Regions from separate parts of the Homo sapiens genome. Here all the other regions are linked to region 3. The links are contacts of gene promoters, found by promoter capture Hi-C in blood cells and fetal thymus (Javierre and others, 2016). All regions are on one chromosome and are shown on one strand. Each heading gives the region's core, a stretch centred on a gene start or on the middle of the fragment in contact. The rest is flanking DNA. Distances are from core to core; before and after follow the strand shown.

Evidence for each region. The method cuts DNA at HindIII sites, captures the fragments that hold promoters and counts their contacts. A CHiCAGO score of 5 or more calls a contact.
Region 1: a fragment that was not itself captured here is called in contact with the fragment with the promoter of ZNRF2 in region 3 in 4 of 17 cell types (naive CD4 T cells, total B cells, fetal thymus and 1 more); the score reaches 7.1 in naive CD4 T cells.
Region 2: a fragment that was not itself captured here is called in contact with the fragment with the promoter of ZNRF2 in region 3 in 5 of 17 cell types (naive CD4 T cells, total CD4 T cells, naive CD8 T cells and 2 more); the score reaches 7.7 in naive CD4 T cells.
Region 4: a contact is called between a fragment that was not itself captured here and the fragment with the promoter of ZNRF2 in region 3, in 7 of 17 cell types (total B cells, total CD4 T cells, fetal thymus and 4 more). The highest score is 7.0, in total B cells.
Region 5: the fragment with the promoter of MINDY4 here is called in contact with the fragment with the promoter of ZNRF2 in region 3 in 2 of 17 cell types (naive CD8 T cells and activated CD4 T cells); the score reaches 5.4 in naive CD8 T cells.
Region 6: a contact is called between a fragment that was not itself captured here and the fragment with the promoter of ZNRF2 in region 3, in 1 of 17 cell types (activated CD4 T cells). The highest score is 5.1, in activated CD4 T cells.

What each region holds. Positions count from the first base shown.
Region 1 is chr7:30,568,693-30,571,392 of GRCh38, reverse strand. It overlaps GARS1-DT (GARS1 divergent transcript), which reads left to right. Exons shown (of 7, transcript NR_038889.1): 3 at 2,404-2,560. Among named protein-coding and RNA genes, the nearest start is that of GARS1-DT, 7.7 kb to the left of the region's middle. The HindIII fragment of the contact is 1,331 bases long and covers 748-2,078 here.
Region 2 is chr7:30,588,146-30,590,845 of GRCh38, reverse strand. No RefSeq gene overlaps it. Among named protein-coding and RNA genes, the nearest start is that of GARS1, 5.4 kb to the left of the region's middle. The HindIII fragment of the contact is 738 bases long and covers 1,029-1,766 here.
Region 3 is chr7:30,283,346-30,286,045 of GRCh38, reverse strand. It overlaps ZNRF2 (zinc and ring finger 2), which reads right to left and starts at 1,449. Exons shown (of 5, transcript NM_147128.4): 1 at 220-1,449. The coding sequence starts at 688. LOC124901607 (a long non-coding RNA gene) reads right to left here. Exons shown (of 3, transcript XR_007060274.1): 3 at 1,792-1,847. All of the region lies in intron 1 of LOC105375218 (a long non-coding RNA gene), which reads left to right. RefSeq lists silencers at 204-333, 484-563, 644-1,033, 1,114-1,163, 1,174-1,603. The HindIII fragment of the contact is 18,269 bases long and covers 1-2,700 here.
Region 4 is chr7:30,551,687-30,554,386 of GRCh38, reverse strand. It overlaps GARS1-DT (GARS1 divergent transcript), which reads left to right. Exons shown (of 7, transcript NR_038889.1): 6 at 2,208-2,287. Among named protein-coding and RNA genes, the nearest start is that of GARS1-DT, 25 kb to the left of the region's middle. The HindIII fragment of the contact is 7,366 bases long and covers 1-2,700 here.
Region 5 is chr7:30,770,039-30,772,738 of GRCh38, reverse strand. It overlaps MINDY4 (MINDY lysine 48 deubiquitinase 4), which reads right to left and starts at 1,322. Exons shown (of 18, transcript NM_032222.3): 1 at 1,183-1,322. The coding sequence starts at 1,245. All of the region lies in intron 3 of INMT-MINDY4 (INMT-MINDY4 readthrough (NMD candidate)), which reads right to left. RefSeq lists silencers at 762-911, 1,282-1,331, 1,392-1,441 and an enhancer at 912-1,206. The HindIII fragment of the contact is 5,437 bases long and covers 628-2,700 here.
Region 6 is chr7:30,609,241-30,611,940 of GRCh38, reverse strand. It overlaps GARS1 (glycyl-tRNA synthetase 1), which reads right to left. Exons shown (of 17, transcript NM_002047.4): 7 at 2,211-2,356. Among named protein-coding and RNA genes, the nearest start is that of GARS1, 16 kb to the right of the region's middle. The HindIII fragment of the contact is 3,439 bases long and covers 1-2,700 here.

The sequences.
Region 1 (2,700 bases), core at 164-2,663, 290 kb before region 3:
AACCACTGTTCCAATAAATTTAAACAATAGTGTATGTTGACAATTCTGAAGCCATTCTAATTCTAATTTTATTTCATGACTACTTTCAAAACCAGCTTATTTATTAAAGATATACTTAAGTCACATGAACTTGAAAAGACATTTGGCTTAAAATCTCTATTTTCTCTGATACAGTATTTGATTTAAAGCCCCTTTTTTTCTTTAAGCCAATTAATTAGAGCACTTTTACATGTTTCTAGTAGTGAAACATCATATACATGACACATAAATACATAGATGTATTATACATGCAGATAGAAGTAGAGCTTATCATTTCACAAGACCTCTTTTTTTCCTCCAGTTCTAGACTTCTAATTTCTTGATCTTATTACCCTAGGCAGTTGTCAGCTAAGATAACCCTAAATTTGCATATTAAAGGAACTCTTAGATGAAAAAAATCAGATAGTGAAATTTACATCTCAAGGTACAGAGAGAAAGAGTCTGGTGCTAGTGTTTCCAGAATTTATTCCTTCTGGTGGGTTCTTGGTCTCTCTGACTTCAAGAAAGAAGCCTCGGACCTTGCAGTGAGTGTTACAGCTCTTAAAGGTGGCGTGTCCAGGGTTGTTTGTTCCTTCTGGTGGGTTTGTGGTCTCACTTCAGGAATGAAGCTGCAGACCCTCATGGTGAGTGTTACAGCAATTAAAGGTAGTGTGGACCCAAAGAGTGAGCAGCAGCAAGATTTATTATGAAGAGCGAAAGAACAAAGCTTCCACAGCATGGAAAGGGACCTGAGCGGGTTGATGCTGCTGGCTGTGGTGACCAGCTTTTATTCCCTTATTCGTCCCCACCCACGTCCTGGTGATTGGTCCATTTTACAGAGCACTGATTGGTCCATTTCACAGAGTGCTGATTGGTGCATTTTACAGAGTGCTGATTGGCGCATTTACAATCCTTTAGCTAGACACAGAGTGCTGATTGGTGCATTTTTACAGAGTGCTGATTGGTGCATTTACAATCCTTTAGCCACAGAGTGCTGATTGGTGCATTTACAATCCTTTAGCTAGACACAGAGCACTGATTGGTGCATTGTTATAGAGTGCTGCTTGGTGCATTTACAATCCTTTAGCTAGACACAGAGCACTGATTGGTGCATTGTTATAGAGTGCTGCTTGGTGCATTTACAATCCTTTAGCTAGACACAGAGCGCTGATTGGTGCGTTTTTACAGAGTGCTGATTGGTATATTTACAATCCTTTAGCTAGACACAGAGCACTGATTGGTGTGTTTATAATCCTCTAGCTAGACAGAAAAGTTCCCCAAGTCCCCACTCGACCCAGGAAGTCCAGCTGGTTTCACCTCTCACTAGTAGGAGGAGATTAAAAACGAATGCCAAATCAAACATAAAATTATAGAAATCTATCATAGGATTATATTAGAAGACTGACTTTATTTATATAAGTAGTTCTAAATTTAGTCTGCCTTTTAACTGGATCTCTGAGCTCTGGGCAGAGCCCACACTGAATTCCGGGTCTCCAAAAAGAGAATTATTATGAGGCTAAGACCATGTGATGGTTTTATGAGTGCACTCTCCTTTTTTTTTTTTTTTTAACAAAAATGTTTCTCTAAGTGTCTGAACTACTCTCTTCCTAACTTTAAACACCCAACAGTAACCTCTGTTGTTACTCTTTGACTAAAATAATTATTTTAGTTAAAAAAAAAAAAAAAAGAAGAAAGAAAGAAACCAGGTAACACTATACAAAAGGAAGCAGTGTAAGATCTGAGACGAAATTTTCTCTTTTACACTCTTTGAGTTCCATAAGGAGAAACAGAGGTTGCTCCCCAAAAGGGAGTCTAGTGCCTTCTCTGTTTTCTTTAAGGAATCCCAGGGTGTTAGAAACTATTTTAGATTCCTCATGCAGCACAGGGTAGCAAGAGAAAGAAGAGGCAGCAGAAGTAAAATGAAGAAAACAGAATTTGGTTGACGGAGAAGAAAAAAACTTTTGCTCAAAAAGTTGAAGGAGAGAAATAAAAAAGGCCTTAACTACACACACACACACACACACACACACACACCTTGGATGTTAGCTTTTATTTAAGCTTTTAGCCACTAAGCTCCTTAAAAAAAATACCTTCAAATCTCATTACTGTATTTTAGCTAGTACAAACTGCTGATATTTCAAAAGTAATGCAAATACCAAACCAGAAAGGGCTTGATTTAGGAACCAAACTTAGGCAGTCATGATGAAAATAAGGACAGAATCTTAGTTTCCAAACTGCAGTGCTGGGGGACAACCATTGCTCTTTCAGTTTGGCCTGGTTAGCAAAAGATGGCCTTGTTATGTAAATAAAGCCCCTAAGGTAGTCAAAATCAAAAAAAATTTTTTTTTCCTTTTGCTAGCTGTTTTTTTCTTTTTTCTTTTTCAGTTGCAGGAATTTAGCCAATTCAGAGGTCTTGTTCTCCATAATTTGGAATTTTCCTTCGGATTTGATCAAGTTGGATAGAGTTGGTCAAACCCAATGGGAAAAAGATGAAAACAACAAGAAACAGAAACAAACAGCAACAACAACAACAACAAAAACAGTTAAGTGAAACAAACAAACAATCACACAATTTATGTGGTCACTGAGTGCTCTAATAGTAAGGAGAAATTAAGACCAGCTGGCTGTTAGTCTTAACTCTAGCCAAGACAAAACTCCAATTCAGCTACTTACCTAGTAATG
Region 2 (2,700 bases), core at 148-2,647, 300 kb before region 3:
TCGCCCAGGCCGGACTGCGGACTGCAGTGGCGCAATCTCGGCTCACTGCAAGCTCCGCTTCCCGGGTTCACGCCATTCTCCTGCCTCAGCCTCCCGAGTAGCTGGGACTACAGGCGCCCGCCACCGCGCCCGGCTAATTTTTTGTATTTTTAGTAGAGACGGGGTTTCACCTTGTTAGCCAGGATGGTCTCGATCTCCTGACCTCATGATCCACCCGCCTCGGCCTCCCAAAGTGCTGGGATTACAGGCGTGAGCCACCGCGCCCGGCCGATTCCTTAGGATTTTCTGTATTAATATGCATATACTTTGTAAATAGAATCAGTTTTACTTCTTTCTTTCCAATATTTATGCCTTTTTCTTTTACTTGTGTGGTTGCGTAGTCTAGGTCATCTTGCACAATATTGAATAGAAGCAGTGAATGAACATCTTGCCTTGTTCCTGATATTAGAGGGAAAAGTGTTCAATGTTTCTCCATTTAGTGTAATGCTAACAAATTCAACTTGGTTTTGTCTTTCTTATATTCTGCTGGATTTTATTTACTAACATCTTGATAAAGATTTTTGCCTGTATGTTCATGAAAAATGAACATACAGGCAATCAGTGTATTGTTTTCTTTTCTTGTATCTTTGCCAGGTTTTGGCCTGGCTTTATAAAATCAGAGTTTCTTTCTTCTCTATTTTCTGAAATTTCAATATTTGTAAGATTGTTATCATTTCTTCCATAACCATTTGATAGAATTCACCAGTGAATTCTGGAGTTTTCTTTGTGGAAAAGTTTTTTTGCAGTTGCAGAGCCATCCATGCTTTCTATTTCATCTTTTGCCACTTTTGGTAAGTTTTGTTTTTCAGGGAATCTGGCCATTTCATATAAGTTATCAGATTTATTGTTTTAAAGTTGTTCATAATATTCCAGTAGTATTATTTGAATATATGTATAAGATCTGGAATGAAATCTCCTCTTTCATTCCTGATACCAGTAATTAGTTTTTTTCTCTCCCTCTCTTTTCTTGATTAGTCTTGCTAAAAGCTTACCAATTTTATCAATTTTGTTAAACATAAAAGTTTTGGGTTTGTTAATGTTCTCTATTATTTTGTCTATTTTCTATTCCATTGATTTCCACTTTTATCTTTATAATGTTTTCCTTTTTACTTACTCTGGGTTTAATTTGCTCTTCTTTTTTAGCTTCTCAATATGAAAATTTATAAGCCTTTCTTCTAAGACAAACATTTGAAATTATAGATTTCCTTCTACTTACTGCTTTAGTTAAATCCACAAATTTTTGATACATTGTTTTCATTTTCATTTAGTTCAAAGTACTTTCTAATTTTCTTTATGATTTCTTCTTTGACTTACTCCTTGTCGAGAAAAGTGTTATTTAATTTCCAAATATTTAGGGCTTTTTAACATATCCTATTATTTTAATTGTTGCTTTCTAGTTTAATTCCTGTGTGATCTGAGAAAGCCTTTTGAAATTTATTGACTTGTTTATGACTCAACATATGGTATATCTTGGCGAACACTCCATGTGTACTTAAAAATTGTGTATTATCCAGTTATCGTATGTAGTGTTTTATACATGTCAATTAGACCAAGGTGGTTGATAGTGTTGTTCAGATCTTCTGTATTACTTCAACCCAAATAACAGACAGAGGGAGATTCTCCAGAGATATTGAGTTTATTTGAGATGTGCAGGGGACTTGCAAATCCAGGATATAGGGCTCTTGGGACCATAGGCATAACTGAAGAGGCTGAGGCAAGGGGAAGCTTTTAAAGGCAACAGGGAGAAGGACACATAATTTGCCTTGAAACAGAGAATATTGGTTACAGGGGCTTATCACAGGAGTTGAAGCCAGTTCATTAGTGAAGACAGTGTGTCAGGCAGGTGTTGTTGTACATCTGGCTAGCTATCATTGTGATTCATGTAGCAGTTTGGGAAGTCTTTGACAAAAGTTCTTCTTACAGGCATGGGTGGGTAAGAGCTCTTCAGAGAGTCTTTGTAATCGTGTTCTTATCATAGATATGTGTGCAACACCCCCCCACACACCGCCCTGCTTCTCAGCCTCCCAGCCTTATTTATTTATTTTTGTTAGAGTTTGACATAAGTAATTCCACTTAGATTCTGACAACTTTCATGATCATTACTAATTTTTTATCTAGTTCTATCAGTAACTAAGAGAAGAAGTTAAAGTATCTAACCACGACTGTGGATTTGTCTATTTCTCCCTTTAGTTCTTTCACGTTTGCTTTATGTATTTTGAATTTGTTATGAGGCATGTACACATTTATAATTGTTATATCTTACTGGCAAATGGCATTTTTTTTATTATGAAATATTCTTCTTCATCTCAAAATATACTTTTTATCTTATAATATATTTAGCCTAACATTAATATAGCCACTCCAACTTTTTTATGATTAGTGCCAATAGTCAGTGAGGACCTGTGGCCTCCTGCCAACAGCCATGGGGTTGAGCTATGCAGGAGGTAGATTTTTCAGCCCCAGTCCAGCCTTCAGATGACTGCAGCCCCAGATGACATCTCAAATCTAACCTTATGAAAGACCCTGATCCAGAACTTGCCAGCTAAACTTCTTCCATATTTTTGACTTTCAAAAACATTGAGACAATAAATATTTGTTGTTTTTTAAGCTGCTAGTTTTAGAGTAATTTGTTACATAACAGTAGATAACTAATACAGGAAT
Region 3 (2,700 bases), core at 200-2,699:
GATGTTTAAAAACAAAACCACGCGTCTATGCGGTAGCGGCACCGCCGGTGTTAAGCGCCGGGTTTCTTCCAGGATGGAGACCGACGCGGGCTGGTCCGGGAGGCAGCCCCCGGCGCCCCGGCAGAAGGAGAAAAGGAGAAGGGTAAAAATAGCCGGCGGCCACGGCCCACGTGCAGCCGCGGGAGGACCGAGCGCGGGTGCGCGGAGAGGGGTCCGTACCTCCAAACATGTGCGGCGAGAGGTGAGCTGGTAAGGAGCCGATCACCAGGCGCGGCCCGCCGGGGCTCCCGCCCACCGGCCGGTCCCGGCCGCCGCCGCCGTCCTCAGGGCTGCTGTGCACCGAGTCCTGCGAGCCGTACGGGCCGCTGCTGCTGTTCGGGATGCTGAAGGGGGACTGCGCCGCGCGGGCCCCCGACGCCACGCTCCCCACGGCCCCGCCGAGGGAGCGGCTGCGCGGGGCCGCCGGGGCTGCCGGGGCCGCCGCGGCCGCCGCGGCGCCGCCGGAGGCGCTGGGCTGGTGCGCGCTGGGCACCTGAGCCGGGAACCTCCCCGCGGCGGCGGCCCGAGCGCCCCCGCCGCCGCCCGCGGTCCCATTGGCGCCTCCGCTGCTACTGGAAGGTAGATCCGAGCCCGAGTACGCGCGCGTGCGGCCGTTAGCGGCGGCCGGGCCGCTCTGTTTGGCGCCCATGTCCGCCCTGCCCCGGGCCGGGCCCGCGCGCTGCGCCCCGAGAGCCGGGAGGGCGGGAGCGAGCGCGGGAGCTAGAGGGCAGGGCCCAGGCGCCGCGGCCGGCCCAGAGAGGCCCCCGCACGTCCAGGGCCGCCGCCCGGCGTCCAGAGGGGCAGTCGGCGCCCGGCGCGCTCTTCTTGGGGCGGCGGGCGAGGCCGACGGCCTGACGCGGGCGCGGGAGACGAGGAGACGCGGAGAGGAAGGGGTCCCGGCTGCAGGCACCCCTCGCTGGCTCCAGCAGGAAGGGGCGGCTCAAGTGGCCGTGCGGCTGCCGCTGGTTTCGGTTCTGGTGCGCCACGACGGGCCGCTACCGCTCTCTGCTGCCGCGCTCGGCGCCCCCGATCTCGGCACCGCCTCCTCTCGGGCGGCCGCTGCTACCGCCGCCATCCTCCGGCTCCCACGGCGGCTGGCGGCTGAGTGGGAGGCGCCCGCCCAGACTCCGCCGGGGCCACCTTCCCTCCTCCCCCAGCCACCCAGCTGTTATTAACGGAGAAAGAGGAAAAACGGGTGGCGCGCGAGGGGAGAACGAAAAATGGGAGGGAGAGGTGGCGCGCGCTTCCCGGCAACCGTCGCCTCGCTCCCCCTGCGAAGGAGGGGCCGGGCTGGCGGGAGGATCTGGGCCGCGAAGGCGGGGGGTGCGCAGATGGGGAGGAGGTTCCCCGGCCCCGCGCCGGAAGGCCGCGGAGCGGCGCGGCTGCAGGGTGCGCCCGGCCCGTGTGTTTGGGTCGCGCGCGTTGACCCCGCCCCCGCCCCCTCGTGCCGCCAGGCCGATTGGCTCCCGCCGGCCTTGCTCCGCCTCCCCCTTCCGCGACCTGCCTGCCCCTGCTCCGCCTCGCCAAGGTACTGCGGTGTGGTAGGTGCTGCCACTCGTGGACTCGGTGATGGACAGGTCTCTGGCCACGCCCTCCCAGCCAGGGCGCGCCCTTGTCTTCCTCGCGGGGCCTACGCCGATAGGAGGAACGGACACCGGGCGCCAACCAGAAGGCGGCCCCTCCTCCCGCACGTGGCCCGCCGACGCTGTAGGAGCCTGTGTCAGCTGCAGCTTTTCCTGGCAGGGGGCGTGAATGGCTGTGTCCTCTGCCCAGAGCCGTTTGGTTTCGGTGGGTGTTGGTGTTACACACTGATTAAAAAAAAAAACAGAAGCTCAAAAGCCAGCTTGATCTCAGACTTACTCATGAAACACCAACCTGGGAGGAAGCGCAGAGTTGGAAGAACTCGGGATAATCCAGGTTGACCCTCTGTGGTAGGGCAAATACTGTGGTGCCAGGAACGCTGCACCTGACTCACAAAACCTAGAATCTAGGCCCAACACCAAACTAAATTATCTGTAGTGAGCAAATTATTTTACTTTTTTGGACTTTAGGTTTATTTTTGTTTTTGTTTTTGAGACGGAGTCTCGCTCAGTCACCCAGGCTGGAGTGCAATGGTGTGATCTCGGCTCACTGCAACCTCCGCCTCCCGAGTTCGAGCGATTCTCCTGCCTCATCCTCCAGAGTAGCTGGGATTACAGGCACGTGCCACCACGCCTGGCTAATTTTTGTATTTTTAGTAGAGACGGTCTTTCACCATGTTGGCCAGGCTAGTCTTGAACTCCTGTCCTCAAGTGATCCACCTGCCTCGGCCTTCCAAAGTGCTGGGATTACAGGCGTGACGTACCGCACCAGGCCGACTTTAGGTTTCTTACCTGAACTGTTTGTGTTAAATCCTAGGGCACCTGCCTCTTTAAAATCCTATAACTTCTCTAAAATGTAATAAAATTCTCCTCAGTGCCTTCCTCAGTGTTGGTGTGGTCTCTTCACGGCAGAGCAGGGTCTGGATACCCAGGGAACAGCCTGCTCTGAGACTCCCATTATGAAAATGTCTAGTCTCTACTTGAAAATAATAATAGCAAGTGGTGTTTTATAAAACTACAGAAATACTTTGTCATCTTTTCACTATTTGCAATAAGTCATTTATGTAATGATTTTCATCAC
Region 4 (2,700 bases), core at 126-2,625, 270 kb before region 3:
CAAGAGGAAAGGAAGGTAGCCTCTTCTTCCTGCAGTGTCTCTCCAGAGCCCTCCATTGACAGCACTTAATATCGTGCTAGCAGGCAAAGAAATGTTTACAGGATTCATCTCCAGTATCACAAAGGAGGATAACGAAGAGTGGATTTGGAATTCAGAGGCTCTAAAGTGATAACTGTCACAGCCCACCCCTTTGGCTACTCAGTTTCCATATGCACCCTCCTACACATACCTGAACTTCTATATGACAACGAACAAAATACAGCTATCCTTCTTACCAGGGAAAATATTCCTACCCTTTCTCCCAAATGAGAAGATACTCGTGCCAACAACAATTTTATCTATCTCTGGCTATATTCATTACTCGAATTTGATCACAGTCCCTCTAAATATTCTGTTACCAAAAGACCAAATTGTAAAGCTAACCTCCAACAACTTGTATATAAACTGATAAAGGGAAGAAGGAGAGAGAGATAAAATGGATGGCATTTTCCCATCACCCATCTATCAGTGGGAAAGAACTCTGGGGAAGTGCTCTTGAGGAAGTATCTTTGGGAAGAATCCCTGATTGGCCCTACTTGGGTCATGTGTGTTGGAATCTGTGAAAGTCGGGAATTTTGCCCATCTTACAAGCTAGTAAGCCTGTTATGGTTTCATGGATGCTGGCAGATGACATGAGACTGGATCAGAGACAAAGGACTACACTACTCATGGCAGAACAAGTTGCACGAGGTTTGTGTTAGTTAGCATTGGTTTTCCTTGTCCCCAAGTCCCACAGGGGTGATGTGGAGGGGCCCAGGTGGTTACTGTACACGCAGTGTGTTTGTACTGCAGCTAAGGAACACTGAGCTTGGGAACATACAATTTAATAGTAAGTGGTGAGCAAGTCTGCCCTTTGTCTGGGGCAGGGGGATATTGCTTTGTCAAGGCTGTCTACTGCAAACACAACCCTGAGAAATATCCCAAGCAAGGAACAGTCAGGACCTTGCATTCTTGTCATCCCCAGCAAGAGCATGCAGAGACAATCAGAGCCTGTGGCAAATTGCCTGTCACAAAAATCCACCACAAGGCCTGACAGATCCTTGGCCAAATTCACATTTTCCCATGAGTATGCTACCTCATCAGCTGCTCTGATTAGTCTGACCAACAGAGGGACCAAATCTGTTTAATTTGATTCCTATCACATTTAAAATTAAGGCTGCTATTGACAGGACTTCAAGCAATACAGTGCAGCAAGTCTGCCATATTGATCTCACCCATGTCCCCAGGGTCCCGGGCTCAACCAACTGTCTAAAAGTTCTGGGGGCAAGGGAGACCAGTCATTCCTATTTCAGATAGCTAGGATAAAATCTAATATCAGTCTAGTATTCATTATGACCCACTCATGGGAGTTTAGATTCACTGATATCATTGCCAGTGACTACAGGAGGCAATGTAGGGAGCAAAGACCCTCATCCCTGATGGAAGGACATTCATGGCCTCTCCCTTTCAAAGAGACAATCCAAAGGGGAGCAGGTCACTCTAGTTTGGAATTTGTTGTTAAATTTGATTTGAATCATCATTGCATTGGTTTGGTTAGGTAAGATGGTTAAATTTTACGTGTCAACTTGGCTGGGTCATGAGACTAAGATATTTGGTCAAACATTACTCTGGATGTTTCTGTGAGGGTGTTTTTGGATGAGATTAACATTTAAATCATTGGACTTTGAGTAAAGCAGATGACTCTACCTAATGTGGATGGTCCTCAACCAATCAATTGGAGGCCTAAATAGAACAAAAGACTGACCTCTTCCAGGCAAGAAGGAATTCTGCCAGCACATGAACTTTGCACTTGAACTGAAACAGTGGCTCTCCTGGGTCTCCAGCCTGCCAGCCCCCACCCTGCAGATTTTGGACTTGCCAGCCTCCATAATCATGGCAGCCCATTCCTTAAAATAAATCTCACTCTCTCTCTTCCTCTAGAATATACATACATATATATATATATATACACACACACACGCACACACATATAATATTATATATATTTTATATGCACACACAAAATAACAGATAGATAGATATCGTATTAGTTCTGTTTTTTTGGAGAACCCTGACTAGTCCTAGTTGCCTTTCTTTTCTTTTTCCACTTTTCTTCTGAGCTCATGTTCCACCTTCTGATATCTTAACATCATTTCCCTGAGCTCACTTTATCCTTTTCCTTCTTAAAGGCGACCATTTCATTAAGTTTTTAAGTGCCTGGTAATTGCTTGGTTATGACCGGTGTCTGCTCCATGGCAGCCTCTTCCTGGTGAGTATTCCACATCTGCCATTGGTTTTTCCTATCCCTTTCCTACATTTGCAGAGATCCTGCATGTCTTCCTTTTTGATGACTCATCTTTGAACAAGTGGAATTTTTTTTTTTTTTTTTTTTTGAGACGGAGTCTCACTCTGTCGCCAGGCAGGAGTGCAGTGGCGCAATCTTGGTGCACTGCAACCTCCGCCTCCCGGGTTCCAGTGATTCTCCTGCCTCAGCCTCCCAAGTAGCTGGGACTACAGGTGCCCGCCACCATGCCCAGCTAATTTTTTGTATTTTTAGTAGAGACGGGGTTTCACCATGTTGGCCAGGATGGTCTTGATCTCTTGACCTCGTGATCCACCTGCCTCAGCCTCCCAAAGTGCTGGGATTACAGGCGTGAGCCACCACACCCGGCCAAACAAGTG
Region 5 (2,700 bases), core at 73-2,572, 490 kb before region 3:
TAGCCATAAAGACAGGGCAGATGCGACAAAGCCAAACGCATTTAAAATTTTTTCAAATAAAAATAAATCATAAAAAACACACAAAGACACTTTCCAAACAGGTGCACTTCAGAGACACCTGTTTGGTGTCAGAAACAGTGAGGGTGGGAGGAGGTATAAAGTTGAACACCTACGTGCACATTGTATCTATATGTCAGATCCAATGCTTGGAAGCTGCCCATATGTTAATATTAATCCTCATTATAAATCTGCAAAGAGTAGGTCTTACTTTCCTGTTTTACAGATAACGAAATTGAGACAGTGAGTAAAGTACTGAGGTTCACACTGCAAACTAGTAGCAAATATTTGAATTGTCTCCGTCTGACTTCAAAGTCCTTCCCCTTTCCTCCATTCAAAAAATTACGTGTATGTGTTTTCATACAAGACAAGTACCCATCGCCCTAGCCCAGTATGACACTGCAAGGACAGACAAAACACACAGAGTGCAGCCCTCAGTCACCATGTGCTGAATGAGCTAATGTATGTCCCCCTCCACTACCACGCCCAAGACCCCCCGGCGAGCTCCTTCCCCACCGAGGTCCCCATCTCCACCCTGAGGCCAGATGACAGCTAAGGACCTTCCAAGCTTGTGAACACTGCAAAAACTCTCCTGGGACAAGACAATAGGAAAACTTACAAAAATTAAAGCAACCACTGGAATTCCCACTGTTGACTAAAATGACTAAGGGTTTGACCGTCAAGAACTTTTCTGGGCTTTTGGGGTTCCCTCTGGGAGAAGTTCTTTCCGAGTGGGACCCTGACTTGCGTGGGTAGCGCACGGAGGCCGGCAGCCAGGCTAGGGCGCAGGCCTGCCCGCTGTGCGCCCGCGCTAGGATTGCTTGGCGCGGCCCCCAGGCCCCCTCCCCAGCTGCCGCCGCCCCGGAGCGCGGATGCCCCAGGAGGGCAGCGGACGGGGTCCAAACCGTGCCTTGCGGAAGCGCCCGGTGACGACGGCAGAAACGCCTCGTGGGAAATGTAGTTTCCCCTGTCCCGGGAAAGCGGCGCTCTTCTGGGGCATCTCTGGAGCAGGCAGTAGGTAGGGAACGGGCGCCCTCCCAGAAGCTGCAAAGCCTTCAGGGGAGACCCCGATGATCCCCCCAAATTAGAGCCACTTCCTGGGCTTTGGAGGGGGCGAGCCGTTACCTTTCTGCTGAGGAACTCCCTGACCAAGGAGGCGGCCACCTCCTCCACGAAGAGGCTGTCCATGGCTCTGGCTCTGGCTCTGCCCACGAGGCCCACGCCGGGCCGCAGCACCAGGCAACTGGGTCTGTCCGGCGCAGTATGGCCGCGTTGCCGTGGCGACGGCGGCGTCGGCGCGGCAAGAACTCCTCCCCTTCCCTGGGGCTGGCGGGCTGGGGCGGGAGGGAAGGGGTGGAGCGTCCCGCAAACTCGCGTCTCGGAGTGGGAGGCCGCAGTCAGGGCGCCCTGGTGTCGCCTAGGGCCCCGTCCACGGCTCCGGACTCGGGGCCTCACTCTGACCCTGGCCCTGGTCATCTGAGAGGCCTAGGACAAATTACCGCTCCGCTCCGAGGCTCCATTTTCCTAGACATAAAATGGGAAGAATACCTGCCTCCTTGTTTCTGGAGGACTAAACTCACAGGGAAGTGACCCCCTCAGGTCCACCCTCAGCACCACGGCCCCCTCTGGGGCCACCAACGCTACTGACCTTGGCGGGCCTTGACGGTGGGGGCAAGGAAGCCCAGCATTCTGCTTCTTGGGCACCGAAATTAAAGGAGATGTTCCTCGCCCCCTTGGTGCCTGCTTTCCCGTAATGAGACTGCCATTTATTGATCACCAAGCTCTTAACTCACGGTTGCACTTTTAATCCTTACAACTTCCTGGCTAGGTAGTTACTGTTGGCCCCATTCTTTAAAACGGGACACTGAGATTCAGAAAGGCTAAGATTTTGCTGAGGCCCACACAGCTGGGTACTGGGAAAGTTGGGTTTCTAACCAAGCCCAGTACATTTTCCCCGAACTTAGTCACCTGGGTTCCACCTTCACAATCTTTGCCACTTCCGCATGTTACCTATTGTATTCCTTTGCTTGGGCTGCCATACAAAGTACCACAGACCATGTGGCTTAAACAACACATTTATTGTCTCCCAGTTCTGAGGGCTACAGACCAAGATCGAGGTGTCAGCTGGATGGTTTCTCCTGAGGCCTCTCTCCCTGGCCTCTATTATAGATGGCCACCTTCTCCCAGTGTCTTCACGTGGCTAGCCGTCCGTGTGTGCCTGTGTCCTAATCTCTTCTTATAAAGACATCAGTTGTATTGGAATAGGGTCCACCCTAATGACTGCATTTCCACTTCATCACCTCTTTAAAGACCCTATCCAACACAGTCACATTCTGGAATACCAGGCATTAGGACTTCAACACGGGAATTTTTTTTTCTTTTTTTTTTTTTTTTTTTGAGACAGAGTCCCGCTCAGGTGCCCGGGCTGGAATGCAGTGGCGCAATCTCGGCTCACTGCCAAGTGAACAACCACCTCCCGGATTCAAACCATTCTCCTCCCTCAGCCTCCTGAGTAGCTGGGATTTCAGGCGCCCACCACCGTGCCCAGCTAATATTTGTACTTTTAGTAGAGACGGGGTTTCACCATGTTGCCAGACTGGTCTTGAACTCCTGACCTCAGGCAGTCCGCCCACCTCGGCCTCC
Region 6 (2,700 bases), core at 106-2,605, 330 kb before region 3:
GGTAGCAAACATTTTCATAGCACGTATTAGAAAATGTATTAAGTAATTAGTGTGGCAGTACTACTTTGGCAATGCCATTTCATTTAATTACACCAGTGAGTCAAAACCCCACTTCTCAAAAAGCAGAAATAAAAATAAATTTAAAAACACCACCTCAGGCCGCGCGCAGTCGCTCACACCTGTAATCCCAGCACTTTGGGAGGCTGAAGTGGGCGGATCACCTGAGGTTGGGAGTTCGAGATCAGCCTGACCAACATGGAGAAACCCTGTCTCTACTAAAAACACAAAATTAGCCAGGCGTGGTGGCACATGCCTGTAATCCCAGCTACTCAGGAGGCTGAGGCAAGAGAATCGCTTGAACCTGGGAGGCAGAGGTTGCAGTGAGCCGAGATCACGCCATTGCACTCCAGCCTGGGCAACAAGAGCGAAACTCCATCTCAAAACAAACAAACAAAAAACACCACCTCTCCCATAGTGCCCCTTAAACCCCTGATGTCTTCTAAGTCATCATGTACATGGAGGCAGATGACAATCTTAGGTCCTTTGGAAAATAATACCCATGCCTATGTTTAGCCCTGTTAACCCACATATTAAAACTTAACTGAGGGGCTAAAAAGAAATCAGTATAGGCTCACATTTAACATCAGCACTCACTTATCACTATCACCTCACCAAGCCAGGTAATTTTCAATGTTTTTCAAATCATTTTATTATCTGCAGTATTTTATATTTTCAACCAGAGGCTTCCGCATTTCTCTGTATTTTAAAGATATAGTCAAGCAAATACACTACTATAACCACTGCCCTCTCAATTTCCTAGAAGATATTCTGTGCAAAACATCCACTAAGGAAACGCTCCCAATGGCCTACTTCAGAATAAGTATTTTACTAAAATAACTTTAAAACCAAGGGCTAAAAACCCTAAAATTGTACCCTCTTCTTACTTAACAGACCAACTCTTTTGATTTTTATGGCCCTTTCCAGATTTCATCCAAATGTAAGTAAAGTTTATACATATATTTACAGTTAGTATGTATAAAATCATGTATTACCTATTTTATACTTCCCATTTTCTAAATAATGGCACAAATTTCTCACATTTAATAGTGACAGAATATTATCCCAAACTAATCCACTTTACCATAATTTGTTTAACCACTCTCAAATTACTGAATAGGTTATTTCTACTTTCAATTTATATACTTCTTCTAAGTATAATTTCCTTTCCTTCTGAATTATTTCCTTAGATCAATTCCCAGAAATGGAATGTCTGGGTCACAGGTTATGTCTCATTTTATGACTCTGTACATATGGCCAAAATGAAAGGCTTGCCACTGGCCTCTTTCCATGAAATATTCCAAATCAACCTGATGTCTCATTAGAATAATTAACTGCAACACATTTTGTCACAATTAATTTTTCTTATTCTTCAGTCCCTACTCTGGGAAACACGATCTATCTAGCTCATGTAGGAAAAACTTACTCTCTTACCCTATCATAGAAAAATATCTAAAGCTATGAAATGGAACACTGGCTAAGTCTGTTAAACAGTGGACAAGGAATCAGAAGATAAAGATTCCAATTCTGAATCATACTGTAAACTAACCAGATATTCTTTATCCATGAAAACCACATCTTTCAAATCAACAGGCTATACCTATGCTGTCCAATATGGTAGGACACCAGGCAGATGTCTATTTAAATTTCAATTAAGATGAAATAAATTTTAAAATTCAGTGCCTCAGAAGAACTGGACCCATTATGAGTGCTCAAGAGCCAAATGTGGCTGGTAGCTAATCATACTGGACAACACACATTACAGAACATTTCCATCACTGCAGAAAGTTCCGTTGGACAGTAGCATGCTAAACTAAATGGTTTCTAAAATATCCTTCAGCAATAAGTTCAACGGCTTTTAAAACCATTCTTCAACTGTCCCTTCTACCCTATGCAGCTATAACTAGAAGATATAGTGATCAGAGACTTTATTTTATGCCAAAAAAATACATATATGCCAAAAAAGAAATTATATTCAGAAAGAATTTTTTAAAAGATTTATTTCTGCCATTATTTCTCCATAATACATTCATCTGTACTTCTGTATATCACTTTTTAAAAATTTTTCCTTCATAACATTGATATTTACCTTTTAATATAAGCAATTTTAAAAACTTCATTACATAAACAGGTAAACAATAAGTGATACATACCCAGGCATGTTTCCTCCAGGCCCAATGAAAGTCTTGAACATTAAGTTAAAAGACACTGGAGGGGATAGATCATTTCCAGTAATGGGAGATTTTACATTATAGTTCACAAAAAGATCCGCAAGTTCTTGCTGTCCATAGTTATCAAGCTAAAAGACATATAAAGAAATTAGTGTAAAAGACAGAGAAAACAAGGCATAAGATATAAAGTATTATATATAACCCTAGCCATCCACTGCTACAATCACACAAAATTCAGGAACATCACAATTAACCTAACCTTCAGGACACCCACATTAAAACCATAACCAATTTATTCACTTTCCATTTATCAAGAGAGAAAAAAATATCCTTCTGGGACCTAAAACTCATATAGTCACTGTTTCAAAGTGAAAGATAAAGCAAAATACCTCTTATTCAATTATAATAGTTATTGGTTGGCAAGAATCTGAAATTACCTAAATAAGTTTTCAAAGCTGAATTTTACTACTCT